2 separate regions of the Homo sapiens genome follow, and region 1 is linked to region 2. The links are contacts of gene promoters, found by promoter capture Hi-C in human tissues and cell types (Jung and others, 2019). All regions are on one chromosome and are shown on one strand. Each heading gives the region's core, a stretch centred on a gene start or on the middle of the fragment in contact. The rest is flanking DNA. Distances are from core to core; before and after follow the strand shown.

Region 1 (3,284 bases), core at 162-2,661, 960 kb after region 2:
TTCATCAGGAAGGGCTTCCACATGATTCTATCTGCAAATCTCCCTTTTCTGAACTATTATGCTTATAGTCTGTACCAGGCCACATGACATATGTTATTTTGTGGCATTCTAGAATTATTCCAATCTTTTCATTCTTATAATTGGTGTGTTGTATTCAATAAATAATGTTGTTATTCCAGTTTTCATCACTGGTCACGCAAGAGTCCTCTCTTTATTATATTTTATCCCCATAGTTCACCCCGTTTCCTCCCCATCCTAAGTAACTATTACCATACCTAAATATATATCTAATTAGGTTGTATGTTTTCTTGCAAAATGAGCACTATCTTCTGTGCACATATATTTGTGTATGTGAACAGTATTGTGTTAGCGTTGCTTCTTTATTTCTTCACTTATGACTATGCCTCTAGTACATATCCATGTTGTTATGTATGCATTTATTCCATTGCTTCTACCCGCTATACCTCATCGTGTACCTCTACCACATGTCATCTTCCCCCTTTTCCAAGGACAGCCACTTGGGTGGCTTCCAACTTGCCCAACAACTATTCTACAGTTATTTTATGTATGTTACTTTGGCTCCAGCTCAATTGTGAACTGCTTGTAGATAAGGACCATGTTTTTCTTTACCTGTTACTCCTGCTGATTTCCTATTAGTGCCTGTGCATGTTTTCTGCTGTAAGGTGTTAAATGTTAAAGTAAAATTAATAATAGTAGAAGTAAGGAGTTGCCAGTGGAATCTTCCTGAGCTGAATCTAATCATGGCTTTACCCCTTACTAGCTTTGTGACCTTGACCTTGGAAAAGTAAAACCTTGTTGGTCTTTCTTCATCTATCAAGGTAGGTAATACCATCTATCTTAGTGGGCTGTTATGAGGAATGAGTTAATTAACTAATACTAAGCACTCCAGTACAGTAGAAGACATACAACAGGTGTTTAATGAATAATAGGTGCAATGAATCCTACCTGCTGCTTCAAATTACAGCCATCTGTACCTGTCAACTTTTCTAAGAGTATAAGCATCTTGGAGGTAAGGTCATTTCAAATACTTCTTTATATCTGGTCATTACCCAGCACTCTGCTTTGTGTGAAATATTCTATACATTTATGTTGCTATGGTTTGGATGTTTTTGTCCCCTCCAAAATTCATGTCGAAACTTAATCCCCAAAGCAACAGTATTAAAGGATGTGGCCTTTAAGAGGTGACTGAGTAATGAATGAGATTAAATGCTCTTTTGAAAGCATTTTGCTCCTCTTTCCCTTCTGTCCCTTCCACCATGTGAGGACATACATTCCTCCACTGTGGAGGATGCAGCAATGAGGTGCCATCTTGGAAGCAGAGATCAGCCTTCACCAGACACTAATTCTGCTGGTGCATTGGTCTTGGAATTCCCAGCCTCAAGAGCCAGGAAAAACAGATTTCTGTTGTTTATAAATTACCAAATCTGTGGTATTTTGTTATAGCAGCACAAATGGACTAAGACAAATCTGTTAACTTAGATTTTAAGCATATGTGCTAAAGTATTTTAAAAGGTTATTTTATCCAAGAATATAGTATGAGTTAATACCTTTTTTGCAAGATTCATGGCAATCTTTTATTATTTATTTTTTATTTCATTCCATGTTGGAAGCAAAGTCATATCTATTAAAAAGTAAAATCACAAATTAGTCTTTGATTATTCAGAAGCATAAGAAGATTGCTGTTTTCATGTTTTCCATTTCTCCCTCCAGTGGCTTGAAAAGTACAGGTGCTCTTTTCAGTCATGTTTTGTCTTAAAGATTTTAAAATAAGAAGAGTCTGCATCCTGTAAAAGAGGGACAGAAACATGGATCAGTACCTACTCCTATTTACTCCAGTTTTTAACATTTAAGTCCTTCTGTTTTGAGGAGCTGTATCATTATGATTCACTATTAAGAATCTTTACAAAAGTTCAGAAACTGCTTAAATTAGAATTTAAAAATCATAGCCAAAATTCTAGATGTACACAAAAGTACTTCTAATGAGTTTAGCATCATCTCTGGTTTAGAGGAGGTATAAATAGCATTGGACTGCAATGCTAAATTCTCTATAATGACTTTTCTGGATCAGCATATCATACCTACACTGACTTGCCCTAATAAATAAAAACAATGAGTCAGATTATGTAGAATTGAGATATATGGAAGATAACTCTTTAAAATTATTTGTGGCCAGGCAGGCACTGTGGCTCATGCCTGTAATCCCAGCACTTTGGGAGGCCGAGGTGGGCAGATCACCTGAGGTCAGGAGTTAGAGACCAGCCTGGCAAAACCCCATCTCTACTAAAAATACAAAAATTAGCTGGGTGTGGTGGTGTGCACCTGTAATCCCAGCTACCCGGGAGGCTGAGGCAAGAGAATTGCTTGAATCCAGGAGGCGGAGGTTGCAGTGAGCTGAGACTGCGCCATTGCACTCCAGCCTGGCCAACAAGAGGGAAACTCTGTCTCAAAAAAAATAAAAAGAAAAAAAAATTATTTGTGAACTTTTTGTATATTGCTTAAGGAATAAAACAAGGCAACCTGATAATCCCCAAGATGTGATGTTTCTTTTCAGAAGATATGCATTTACCACTTTCAAAACTTTGCACTAAGAAAGACAAAATAATAATAATGATAATACAAAATTCAGTGTAGCCACTGTTCTTGATCCCTAAAAATAATAAAGATTCATAAAAACAAAGTTCCAGACATACAGACTAAAGAAGCAAATTCTAGTTAACAAGTACTATTAGCTTGAAATAAGCTATGCTAGCATTTTCTTAACTTAGACGCTTATCAATAAGAAAATTTATATATATACATATATATAAAATATAAAATAGTGGGAGAGAGGAAGAGTACAGACTATAAAGAATGAGGTATTATGTCCTAAAAATTGCTTTGAGAAATGACAGAATGCCCAGCTTATAATAAAGAGTGACAAAGTAGTAAGACTATATAATAAGCAATATTTCAAAGATGGTGGTAGGAAGAAAAAGGCTGTCATTTTTTTAGAAAAACCTAGATGTAAAAAAAATGCGAGATTTGCTAAATGATGTTTATATTTTACAGTTAGATATTCTCTAAACAAAACAAAATATCCTTCATATGGACATTTCTGGAAGTACTACTACAGTGGGACTGAAATTCTCTAGTCCCTGGTCCCTCTTTCCCCTTTGAAAAAAAAATCACTTCTATAATATATTCTTTCTCTGCCCTATTATTTAAATTGAGAATGTGAACCAGTACAGACATTATGGAAAATACGGAAATTCCTCAAAAAATTA
Region 2 (3,509 bases), core at 906-3,405:
TCTACATCTATTATCTATATTTATAGCTATTAGATAGGAAGAGCAGTTCACATGTGCATTTCTCCACATTTATGTGCTTACAGTCTATTGTGTATGCTGTCCTTTATATGGAGATGACTATGTCACATGGCACATCCCTATAATATTGTTAAAGAGAATGGAATTTTTGTTTTCAGACAGACTGCATCTTCTCCTTCATTACTGAAGAGCCAAGAGAACTTGTTGTAAGGTGATTTCTCCATTAAAATTACTCCTCAGAGTGTGCCTCAGTAACATACTTTTATCTACAAGGATAAGCCCTGTCTTAACAGAAAGGCTCCACATTCAATTTATTGACTCAATAAATTTCAGGCTCACTGATTATGTTTCAGTCTAAAAGCTTTACACAGTTATAAAATTAGAAGAGCCTTTAGAATCATCCCAGGTCAAGTTTCTCTCTGAATATTTTTCCACCATGAACTGCGTTACATTAAGTCTACCCATTAGTTAGAATATCAGTGATTATATCCTTGATCTGATGGCCAGGGGAAAATTTATATTGTCAGAGTTCATTTTAGATAATATTTGAAATGGAAGAAGTAGCTGAGGACAGAAGAGCAACATTCAAAGCTATCTTCTTTCGGGGGAGAAAAGTGGGTCTTGTCTATAAAGAACAGGCTTGTTAAAAGAACATCAGAATTCATCGCTAAACATCTCTCTGAGCAAAACAAAGCATTTCCTCTCCCCTGAGATCCTCAACTAATTTCATAAATATTTTTTCACTTGAACCCAACTTAGTGTTGCAGAATGAAAGGAGAAAATAAATGATAAGAGTTCCACCAACACTTCAGTAGGGAGTTGTCTGAAATCTTAATTGTGAACCTTTTTTTCACAAGATGCACAGTCTTCTAGAGATTTTGCTAGTGGAACGGGTGTGTGAGCTGATCATTATATGGAATTGAGACACATCAAATGCCATTAAAATTTACATTTACAACTCGAGTAACTAAATGCATTGATTCTTTTCATATTAAAAGACACTTGGTATTCACTGAATAATGAAAAATGCCACGGAAAAAATTATGTATTAACAATACAACCTGCCTAAAGGGTCAGAATTCTGCTACACACCTTTTGCTTACCTTTAAATAAATATTTAGGTGTGTTAAGAGCAGGGCAATTCTTGAACGGCACGATGTTGTTTGGTTTAATGTCTTTATAAAAATATTTGAAAAGGTATGGAAAATGAGGTGAGAGTGTTGTGGATTTAAAAACATGTGTATACATAGATACACAATTATTAAAACTTTAGACAAGGACGTTTTCTTCCTGGGAGTGGAGAGCCACCAGCGCGGGAAGTCTGCTGCAGGGATGAACAAAAGCATGGCTGCACGATAGTATTATCTTTGCAGCAGCAGCAGGCGCCCTGACGGAGGGTTGCGGCGACTGTCTAGTCTATCACACCGCACTTCTGGTAGTGACAACCTCCGTTATTCTGTCAGCTCAGCCGACTAAGTGGTTCCCCGCGTTCTGCCTGGTCACCTTGTCTCCGTTAAACGGGAAGCAGAAAAGAGAAAGGTGAATTGAGGGGGTACAAGGAGATTCCTCCGCCTTGGGACCGGCGTCGCCCCATCCTCTGGAAGTGTTGAGCGGGGAGAATTCGAGGACCGTATTTAACCCAGAAAACAGTAAGCCCTCTGAATTAGCTGCTACGCCTGGGGAAGGCAGAAAAGTCTTAATCGTCCCTTCCCAGCAGGGACCAAGAAAGACCAGTTAGAGCGAGCCTGGCCGGACCACGCGAGCCCCGGACCTCTCCGATCCTTCAGAGCCCGCGCCGGGCAAAGTAGAGGTCAAGTCAACACACACGACCGCAGGGCAGCCCTCCCACTCTCCCGTGCGGTCCGCAGCTCGGCTTCGGAACGACCACCGCTAACACTGCAAGGCTGTAAGGCTGGGAGGGGGCGGGTCCTGAAGGGGGCGGGAATAAGAGGCGGGGCAGAAGGGCGGAGGAGTGTGTCGGGAGATGTAGTTCCGCGAGTCCCGACAGCAAAGCTGTCCCGGCTCCGCTAATAGATTGGGACCACTACTCCCAGGAGTCTGCGCGCCCGACCGGAGCGTCCATGCGCAGTGGGAGCCACTTTGTATCCTATCAGGCGAGGAGAGGGTGATGTCACCTGCGAGTTAGTAACCTACGAGCGGCTGTGAAGGAAACTGTTTAACCGGATCCCATTGTACCCAGAGTGCAGAGCCGCCTTTCCAGCATGCAGGGGCTGCTCAGGTAAGGGGGACGCTCCTCCTTGCCCGCCGCACTCATTCATTAAGTGGCACTGCTCAGTGGTGCGGGGGTGGGCGTGCTTCCGTGGGCTGGGCGCTGGGTTCGCGGCGCGCCCTCCTGCTGCCTCCCCGGAGCTCCCGGGCCAGTAGGTAAATATTAAACCCGTCCTTCAGGTTGGGTCTGGGTGGGAACGGGACCGAGACAGCTCTCGGCTGCCTAGCTGGGGGTGGGAAAATGGCTGCAGCGCAACGCAAACCGAGGCAGCAGGGAGGAAGACGCCCCCAAGGACTGGGGTCCCTCCCTTTCTTTCTAAGGCGCCCGGCTGGCCGAGGAGCTGGCGGGGTAACACTCGCCGCCTTGCTGAAGGCTCCCCGGGGCTGGGGCCGCGGGTACTGCAGCGGCGTCCGCGAGCTCCCGGCCCGGCGGCTCCGAGAGGGAGAACCCCGAGGCAGGCTTGGTGGACACGGCGGTGGCGACAGGGAAGGAGGGACTCGTGTACCCGTTCGCGTCCGAGCAGAGCCCCCAGTGCCCCTGGCACCCTCACTTCCAGCCCCATTCGAAAGGGACGGAGCGCCTGTAATTCAGACTAAGTTGGACCTAAATGTTTCAAAACAGAGAGAAGGGAAATCGGGCGTTGCGGAGGGAGAGCAGGGTGTTGGCGGCCGGGGAGGCTGCGCCGCCTGCGGACCCGGTTGTGAGGCACCGCAGAGGGCTTTTGCCGCCCGTCCCTCTCGGGAGGGCGCATCTCAGTCTCCACGGTCCCTTGGTGTAGAGCACCTGGGCTGGGGCGAAGCGCCTGCCCTGAAGCCCTGGGCCAGGAGGTGGTAGCGCGGGGGTGGAGGTGTCGGATAATCTAATGATTAGGCTCGCTGTGGGGCAGGAGGGCTGGATAATCGGGTTTACCCAGCTGGTTCTGAAAGCCAACTGCTTGTGATCGGCTTGCCCTCTGAGTGGAGACGTGCAGGAGGCCCAGAGCTCTCAGTCCTCTGGATGTTCTTTGCCTTTCCTAGTACCTTCATTTGTTCGTTTACTCATTCATCAAACCCTGCTAAGGTCTCAAGTTGTTCACGGCCTGGCTTTGCGGAGCTACCTCTCGCCCCATAACATATTTAGTGATGCCTGAACTCCATTCCCCTCTCCTTCATCTCCACTTTCTGGAGAGCATCAAGAGCAAATGCCACCGTGACCGTTTTGCTGGTAGTTTCTTGAGATTCGAGCAGGACCCAGTGAATCGAAGCGGAGTTGCCTGCAAGAT

Evidence for each region. Contacts are between HindIII fragments. The study calls those that stand out against the background at their distance.
Region 1: a contact is called between a fragment that was not itself captured here and the fragment with the promoter of DAAM1 in region 2, in 1 of the 25 tissues and cell types used here (spleen).

Annotation. Positions count from the first base shown.
Region 1 is chr14:60,143,209-60,146,492 of GRCh38, forward strand. PCNX4 (pecanex 4) reads left to right here. Exons shown (of 11, transcript NM_001330177.2): 11 at 1-3,284. It overlaps DHRS7 (dehydrogenase/reductase 7), which reads right to left. Exons shown (of 7, transcript NM_016029.4): 7 at 911-1,805. The coding sequence ends at 1,758. Among named protein-coding and RNA genes, the nearest start is that of DHRS7, 21 kb to the right of the region's middle. The HindIII fragment of the contact is 4,222 bases long and covers 1-3,284 here.
Region 2 is chr14:59,186,512-59,190,020 of GRCh38, forward strand. DAAM1 (dishevelled associated activator of morphogenesis 1) reads left to right here and starts at 2,156. Exons shown (of 25, transcript NM_001270520.2): 1 at 2,156-2,257. RefSeq lists enhancers at 1,659-1,898, 2,679-3,438, 3,149-3,308 and silencers at 2,369-2,508, 2,569-2,788. The HindIII fragment of the contact is 8,246 bases long and covers 1-3,509 here.